3 separate regions of the Homo sapiens genome follow, and all the other regions are linked to region 1. The links are contacts of gene promoters, found by promoter capture Hi-C in blood cells and fetal thymus (Javierre and others, 2016). All regions are on one chromosome and are shown on one strand. Each heading gives the region's core, a stretch centred on a gene start or on the middle of the fragment in contact. The rest is flanking DNA. Distances are from core to core; before and after follow the strand shown. Region 1 holds the start of GJA3 (gap junction protein alpha 3). Region 2 overlaps CRYL1 (crystallin lambda 1). Region 3 overlaps CRYL1 (crystallin lambda 1).

Region 1 (2,700 bases), core at 95-2,594:
GAGTAGTACCGTTTCGTGAATTACTTTCCACTACAGCAACACATGCATTGCCCTTATGAGATGCTTATCTCGATATGAACCAAACTGCTGAGCAGGTGGAATCTGTGCCAAACTAGCTGATGTTTACTTTGAACACACTGATATTCGGAAAATAAATCCCTCTTTTTTCCTCTTTAATCTTTTAATGTTTGTCTTGCACATGGATGGACCGCCAGTGAAGTGATGCGCACATCATAAATCACCATGGTTTTTAATTCCTGGGTGATGAGACCCATAATTCGCTTGTCAGCTGTTTGTATAGAATCATTTTTAAATGGCATGTTTTGGAGACATCTTGATAAAATAAAAACTGGAGTTCTAAAGTTGCAGTCACATATTCACGAACCGAGAACTCTACATGGTAGGATGAATTTTGCTCACTAGTGTGGAGTCGGCAACAAAGCAAATGCAGCCGCGTCACTGCCGTTTGTTTTCTCAAGTCTCCTACGGGAAGGGGCTCGGACAGTGCTTTTCCACTCCTCTGCAAATTCCTTATAGTTGAACACATCATAACAAACATACAGGTCGAGAAATCTGGTCGTGGCATTAATAGCTACAGTGTTTCTTAAAAATAAAAAGTTTTAAAAAGTTTCTGAAAAAAATGTAGGCGAGCCAACCTTGTTTCTAAACAATCCCAACAGGACTTTTAGGAGCACGGCGATGCTGAATGCCCGTGGACGGCTGGGTGCGCGCCGTTAGCTGGCGCGGTGACATCTGCTTAGAGTTTTCAAGCATTTCAGCATCGCTAGGAGCCCTACAGCCTGACGGTCCGGGACAGCCCGGCTTCCTCCACCCGAGGGGGAAAACAACCCCAGGAAAACAACTTAAACTCGGCCTTGGACTGTCCATCAAGGGAAGCCAAACGAGGCGCTGCTCTCCAGACCTCCAGGAGCAAAGGAGGAAGATCAATTATTCCAAAAGTTTCTCACAAATTTCCCGAGCTCCCCACAACTTTTTGAAGAATCCTGAAAGAATCCTAGGGGGCTGGGAGCCGCACACGTGCCGGGGCTCGGCTTCCCAGCTCGGCAGTCTCAGCCCGCTGGGCTCGCCCGGCAGCTCCGCTGCGCCGCCGACCCGCCCGTCCCCGCCCCGCGCTGCCCTCGGCCCCTGTGCCTGGCCTCCGGGGCGCCCGGCCCGCCTTACCCCGCTCTGCCGCGGCGGCGACCCGGGTGCGTTCCTCCGGAGCAGGGCTCCCGGCCGCTCTGAAAAGAATTCCTTTCACACGTGCGGTGCTGCTTCACGCGTGCGCCCCGCGCCAGGGCCCGACCTCCCCGCCCTGATCGCCATCCCTGCAGCCCCAGTGTGCGCTGCGCCCGACGCCCCCAAGCTGCAGCTCAGGACGCCGCGCCACGCCCCCGCCGCCTCCGAACAGCCCCGCCCCGCGCGCTTCCCAGCACGCACACCTACCGCCCCCGCATCCCTACCCTGTACGCGCAGCCACAGCACTCGCCCGCGTCCGCATTCCACACCCTACCCCGCGCGCACGTCCATGCCTAGCGCCTGCATCCCCATCCCGCACCTGCGCGGGCCCTGGGGATGTGGACGCGGGGGCTCTTCCCTGCCGCCTACGCACTCCGGGGCATGCCCGCGCGGGACGTGAGAGGAGAGCCGAGGGCTGTTGGGGCGGGCCCGACCCGCTTGCGGGGCGCCCACCGCACGCAGATGCGCCAGCCCGCGCCCCGCTCGCGCCTGTCCTGGGCTTCGCAGGCCCGGCGAGGTAGCTGCTCTCCGGGCGCTCCCACGGTCGGAGGCGCGTGGGCGTCGGGCACCTAGGTCTCGCCCGCCTGCAGCCGCCTGGGGACGCGGGTTCCGGACGGCTGGCGCGGGGCGGGGCGGGGACCACCGAGCAGGAAGTCCCCGCGGAAGCGCCGCCGGGCACAGCGTGGGTGCTGTCGAGGAGTGGCGCCCGGGCGGGGCGGGAGGTTATAAATAGCGGCCGCCATCCTGCTTCTCTTCAGACACACTTAATTTAGCCGGCAGGCACACGGATGCTTATTTTTAAAAAAAGAACTTGTTTTATTGCGCTCGAGGTGACCGGGAAGGTGTCCCCGCGGGTCACTCGCTCCATCTGGTCCTGGAGACGAGATGCCAGGGCGAGGCCTAACCTGCCTGCTGGCGCCCAACGAAGATTTTAACGTTTTCTGTTCCCTTCGGGGTGGTTTTACCACGCTTGAGAGGGACGCCTACCGCGGAAGGCCGCGGACCGAGGGCGGCATCGCGTCCTTGTCTGCTGTCTGGGCACAGCCTAGAGAGGCCGCGGGTCCCCTCCCCGTCCCCCAAGGTCTGGAGTGGGGTTTGACCAGCCTGGGATATTAACAAATATCGGTGGACTGCATTTCGGTGATCATTCCACAAGCTGAAATGGCTTCAAAATCACCTTTATGAGTAATAAGTTTATTCCAGGAATGTGGCAAAATGCAAGTCTGATAGTTTTCGTGTCTTCATGGAGCAGCTTCCGTCGGCTGCCTTCGTTAGCGTTTAGATCTACTCGGATTAGCAGTTGGCTTGCCCTGAAAAATGCGTTTGTTCTGCTGAGATCTGAATTTAAAGTTATCCCAAGGAGGAAAAACTAAGCTCCTAAAGGCGCATCTAAAATATCTTCTCCCTTTGGGAACTTTGCGGTGTATGTATGGAGTAGGTAGTAGTTACGGAGACTTAGTT
Region 2 (2,936 bases), core at 226-2,725, 320 kb after region 1:
CTGGGTGACAAGAATGAAACTCTGTCTCAAAAAAAAAAAAATTACCGTCTTCCATTGGCAGGTGGTTGTGAAGGGGGAAAAGCCAAAATGCCCAAACTGAAAGGTAAAGTAGAAATTCAGGCTAACGCTGACCTTGAGCCAGGCTTCCTGGCAAAGATCAAAGCCTGTTGCCTTCTAACATTCTGCTCCAGCACACATAACTTCATACTCCACCCCACAAGGTAGAGGCCAAAGAGAACAAATCATGGTGGAGTACTTTCCTAATGCTCCTGCAGGTCCCACGATGTCTGAGACACAGGCAGGTCACTGCCTCGTCCATCACTGCAGGGCCTGCCAGCGCAAATCATGCCAATAACCTGCCGTTCGTGGATGCTGCGGGGACCCACAATGCTGGCCATGTTTAGTCCTCACCTGCAGGCACACTGAATGCAATGAGGATGCCCTCCTCTTCTAAGACTTTATTTTACTGTCCTTCTTATGTTTTGACTTAGCATTTTTTCAAGTCCTATTTGGTCACAGAAGAAGATAAATACATAATTACAGATTAAGAGAAAAACTTGCCTGTCTCTTGAATGTATAACATTTTTCATTACTTGCTCATATTATATCTTTGAAGCTATACATACTACAAAAAAAAAGCCAAGCAAATAAATAAAAATACAGCTTCACAGAAATAAGACCTCGTGCCCAGTTCTGTAAGCACACTATTTGAATAAAGCAAGAGCAAGCCATCAGAAAAGTAAGGGCTGTGGCAGGAAGCTAGTAGAACATTAGGACAGAATGTTTTCACACTTCGCAAGTGAAAACTGAAGGCTCGTGCTTCCAGATGATCTCGTGAGTGTGTGAGGTGGGCTTGCCCCAGTCCATCCAGAGTCCCACGCACCTTAGTAATGTCATACCACTCAGCAACAAATTACCAATCAACACAACCACACAAGCCACGTCAAATTCATTTTACTCTGTGAAAGAAACCAAACTCAAAAGGCTGCATCATGTATGATTCCATTTTACATAACATTCTGGAGAAGGCAAAACTATAGGGACAAAGAACAGATCAGTGGTGGGCAAGGCCTGGGGAACGGTGGGAGGAAATTAGCTGCAAAGGGAAGGAGAGGCTCTATGCTCTGAACCCCAGCTGTGACGCTGATTTCATACGTGACTGTACGCATCTGTCAGACACATAGCACTGAACCCTGAAACGAGTGAATTTTCTTGTATGGAAATTATATCTTTGTAAACCTGATTTTACAGTTTTTAAAGAAAAAAACACGTATGGCCATGCGTGGTGGCTCACTCCTGTAATTCCAGCACTTTGGGAGGCCGAAGCGGGCAGATCACCTGAGGTCAGGAGTTCAAGACCAGCCTGGCCAACATGATGAAACCCCGTCTCTACTAAAAATACAAAACTTAGCCCGGCATGGTGGTGGGCGCCTATAATCCCAGCTACTTGGGAGGCTGAGGTAGGAGAATTGCTTTAACCCGGGAAGCAGAGGTTGCAGTGAATCAAGATCGCACCACTGCACTCCAGCCTGGGTGACAAAGGTGCGACTCCATCTCGAAAGGAAAAAGAAAAAACACATACAACAGAAAAAGTGTAACTCCAGTTTCCTCGCACATTCCCGAATATTCTCAGGGCTGGCCATCCCATGTGTCCAATGCTGCCTGAACCCCCCACCCCCACACCCATCTCTACCAAAAGAAGAAATATTCTGAGTCTCAGTGAACCAAGACTGAAAGTCCAACAATCCTTTAAGAAAACAAATAAATTTCCAAAAGAACGCTACTTCCTGTAATTACTGACAGTGTCTGAAGGTCCTTTTCAAAATGATTAGCATTCTCTCCATTTTAAAGATATAGTTGAGATGCAAATTCTGATCATCTACATAGACAATATCCATTTAACTTCTCGATTTCAGCTATTGCAGATTGTTCTGACTTTGTGTAAGGAAACCCCATTTAAACTTCGTAACTCTATAAATCATTCCCATGGCTCCCACCAGCTACTGTGATCTCCGGTTTTAAGTTCCAGAGATTAGATAAGGCCTCGACATAGTGGCTAATGAGCTTTAATGTGCTTTAAAAGTCAAGGCTTGAGACCAGCTTTTCAGAGTAAACTTATTTTTCCAGAACAGTAGGTTTTCTTGCCAGGCAAGATTTGATTTCAAAATTGCACTAAGTTCTAGAAATTCAGGTTTCTTTCTTGCGTGCTCCCGGATTTCAGCAGAGTATTAGGAAACGTCCTGACCCAGGCTCCCCGCCCTCTAGGGTTGGGTAGAAAACAATCCACTGGGGAAAACCACACTCCCATTACTGGGCTTCGCCCCCTGGGGCTGGGCAGATCCGACAGTGGGATTATTTTTAGTTGAAGCATTGTGGCAAGCAGTCTGTGTGTGTGTGTGTGTGCGCGCGTGTGTGTGCGCACGCACACACGCGTCTCCTCAAACTCTGCCTCCTGCTTGTGAACAATTCCCTAAATAGTAATAATTTTCTTTTTATAAGAAAACCACAGCAACATATTTTATAAGAAAACTGTAGCAACATAGATGGCATTGGAGATCATTATATTAAGCGAAGTAAGCCAGGCACAGAAAGGCGAAGATCCCATGTTCTCACTCATGTAGGGGAGCTAAAGCAGTGGGTCTCATGGAGGTAGAGAGTAGAATGGTGGACACCCGCAGCCGGCAGTTACCAGGAAGGGGAAGGAGCGATGAAGAGAAGCTGGTTAATGAGTACAAAATACAGTTCGCTAGAAGGAGCAAGGTCTAGCATTCAATAATACAGTAGGGAAATTAGAGTTAATAATGTTATATATTTCAAAATAGAAGATTTATAGTGTTCCCAACACAATAAAAGATAAACGTGTGAGGTTCTGGATATCCTAATACACCGGGATTTTACCATGACACACTGAACACACAAATCAATCACACATGAAT
Region 3 (2,700 bases), core at 57-2,556, 340 kb after region 1:
TATTTATCTCTGCTCCCTCCAGAAACCTTAGTAAAACCAGGCTAATAATGGATCTTTTTTTAAAAGCATAGACCTGTGCCTGGTGTGGTGGCTTACACCCATAATCCCAACACTTTGGGAGGCCGAGGCAGGCAGATCAGATCTCTTGTGCTCAGGAGTTTGAGACCAGCCTGGGCAACATGGCAAAAAGGCTGAGGTAGGAGGATCACTTGAGCCCCCGAGGTGGAGGCTGCAGTGAGCAGAGATCATGCCACTGCACTCCAGCCCGGGCACCAGAGCAAGACCCCGTCTCAAAAAAAAAAAAAAAAAGTGTAGGCCCACAAGGTCAGAGATTATTGGGAGACAAAATGGACAAAATATGCTAATTTTTTGGAAAATTGGAAATCATGCAAAAGTAGTCAGGTAAATGATTGAATGAGGTGGAGAAAGCTAAAACTTAGGCATGGGGTTAAGGAAAATGCCAACGAAAAGCAAGTCGCAATAGCTCCTGAGAGACGTGGAAAAGGTCAGAATCTGCAGGTACCAAAGAGGACACAGTGTGAATGAGGAGTGGGAGGTGACAAGAGTTTACTGAAAGCGGTGCCACTACTAAAGAAATCCAACCACAATAGGCCAGACACAAGAGGCCGTTGGGGGGTGCTACAGATACCAGGGGCTTCAGATAGAGGACACCCTGAGAGGCGAGAGCCATGCGTGCCCACACACCACATACACACAACTACACACACACCACCATACACACAACTACACACACCGCATATACACACTACACACACACCACCACACACACTACACACACACCACCATACACACAACTACACACACCGCATATACACACTACACACACACCACCACACACACAACTACACACACACCACCATACACACAACTACACACACCACATATACACACTACACACACACCACCACACACACAACTACACACAGCACACACCACATATACGCACTAGACACCACACACCACACACACACAACTACACACACCACATATAGGCACTACACACACCATATATATGCACCACACACACCACACACAACTACATACATACCACATACACACAACTACACCACCACATACACACACTACACACCACACTCCACATACACACAACTACACACACCACATATATGCCCTACACACACCACACAAACACACACCACATACATACAACTACACACACATCTCATATACACACTACACACACCACCATACACACAACTACACACACCACATATACATACTACACACACACCACCATACATACACCACATACACACAACTACACACACCATATATACACAGTACAATATAAGGATTTATACTCATATTGAATTTCCAAAACTAATGTTTTCATTTACCATTTTTTAATGATGGATTGAAAACTAGTTGTCTTACTTTGATAACTTTGGCATTGAACTTATCACATTTTTGATGCTTTTGGTCACAGTTCTGTCTCTAGAGCTACACACACAACTACACACACACCCTATACACACTACACACACACCACACATACACACAACACCATACACACTACACACACCCCATATACACAGTACATACACACCACACATACACCACCATACACACTACATACACCGCATATACACACTATACACACGCCACCATACACACTACACATACCCCATATACACACTACATACATGCCACCCTACACACTACACACACCCCATATACACACTACACACACACCACCATACACACTACACACACTCCATATACACACTACACACACATGCACATACCTCATACACACACTATACACACCACTTACACACACTACGCACACCACATACATACTATGCACACCAATACACACTACACACACCATATACACACTACACACACACTGCCTAATGGAAAGCCAGTGTCTAGGCCCGTGTGTCGGAATAACAGGGTTTTCTTGGAGCATTGATCTGCTCTTTAATATAAAATTATAAAAGGTTATAAAGTTTATGGAAATCTCACCTTATGGTCAAACTGATTAGATTTATTTATAATGTTTTATTAAAATTAGCATTAACATTAATAATATACCATACAAAGGTAAAATTTGGTTTTCTCTTTTGAACAAAATTTTCATGTAAGAGATAAGAGATTTTTATTTACCTTTTCAGTAAAACCACAGAAGAAAACAAATAGAGGGAAGGAGAAAGACAGATTTAGCTGGCCTCATGCTGTCTTTACTAGGTCTTAATGTTTAGGAAACTCAGTCTCCTATCAAAGAGAAAATGTTTTTGTATTATAATTTTGGCCAAATGAATGACTGTTTTATAGTGACTTCTGATCCTATTTTGTGATATCAAGTGTCTTAAAACCTTTGATATTTGACAGACTTCCCAACAGCAAAATATCAAGTTCTAAATTCTCTGACCTTAAACTAACTTTTTCAGCTATTAGGTTCCCTGAAGTCCAAGAGAGACATATTAGGCATATTAGGCTTATGTGTTATGTTAGAATTATTTAAGCCGGGCATGGTGGCTCTTGCCTGTAATTGCAACACTTTGGGAAGACAAGATGGGTAGATTGCTTGAGCCCAGGAGTAAAGAGACCAGCCTGGACAACATGGCAAAACCCCATCTCTACCCAAAAAATACAAAAATTAGCTGGGTGTGATGGCGCATGCCTGTAGTCTCAGCTACTCTGGAGGCTGAGGTT

The links. Contacts are between HindIII fragments. The CHiCAGO score rates a contact against its expected background, and 5 or more counts as called.
Region 2: a fragment that was not itself captured here is called in contact with the fragment with the promoter of GJA3 in region 1 in 2 of 17 cell types (M2 macrophages and M0 macrophages); the score reaches 7.1 in M2 macrophages.
Region 3: a fragment that was not itself captured here is called in contact with the fragment with the promoter of GJA3 in region 1 in 2 of 17 cell types (M2 macrophages and M0 macrophages); the score reaches 5.5 in M2 macrophages.

What each region holds. Positions count from the first base shown.
Region 1 is chr13:20,159,708-20,162,407 of GRCh38, forward strand. GJA3 (gap junction protein alpha 3) reads right to left here and starts at 1,345. Exons shown (of 2, transcript NM_021954.4): 1 at 1,183-1,345. RefSeq lists silencers at 1,076-1,165, 1,326-1,405, 1,636-1,995. The HindIII fragment of the contact is 22,819 bases long and covers 1-2,700 here.
Region 2 is chr13:20,480,355-20,483,290 of GRCh38, forward strand. The region is part of intron 3 of CRYL1 (crystallin lambda 1); the gene reads right to left. Among named protein-coding and RNA genes, the nearest start is that of CRYL1, 44 kb to the right of the region's middle. The HindIII fragment of the contact is 5,108 bases long and covers 1-2,936 here.
Region 3 is chr13:20,496,553-20,499,252 of GRCh38, forward strand. All of the region lies in intron 2 of CRYL1 (crystallin lambda 1), which reads right to left. Among named protein-coding and RNA genes, the nearest start is that of CRYL1, 28 kb to the right of the region's middle. The HindIII fragment of the contact is 5,408 bases long and covers 1-2,700 here.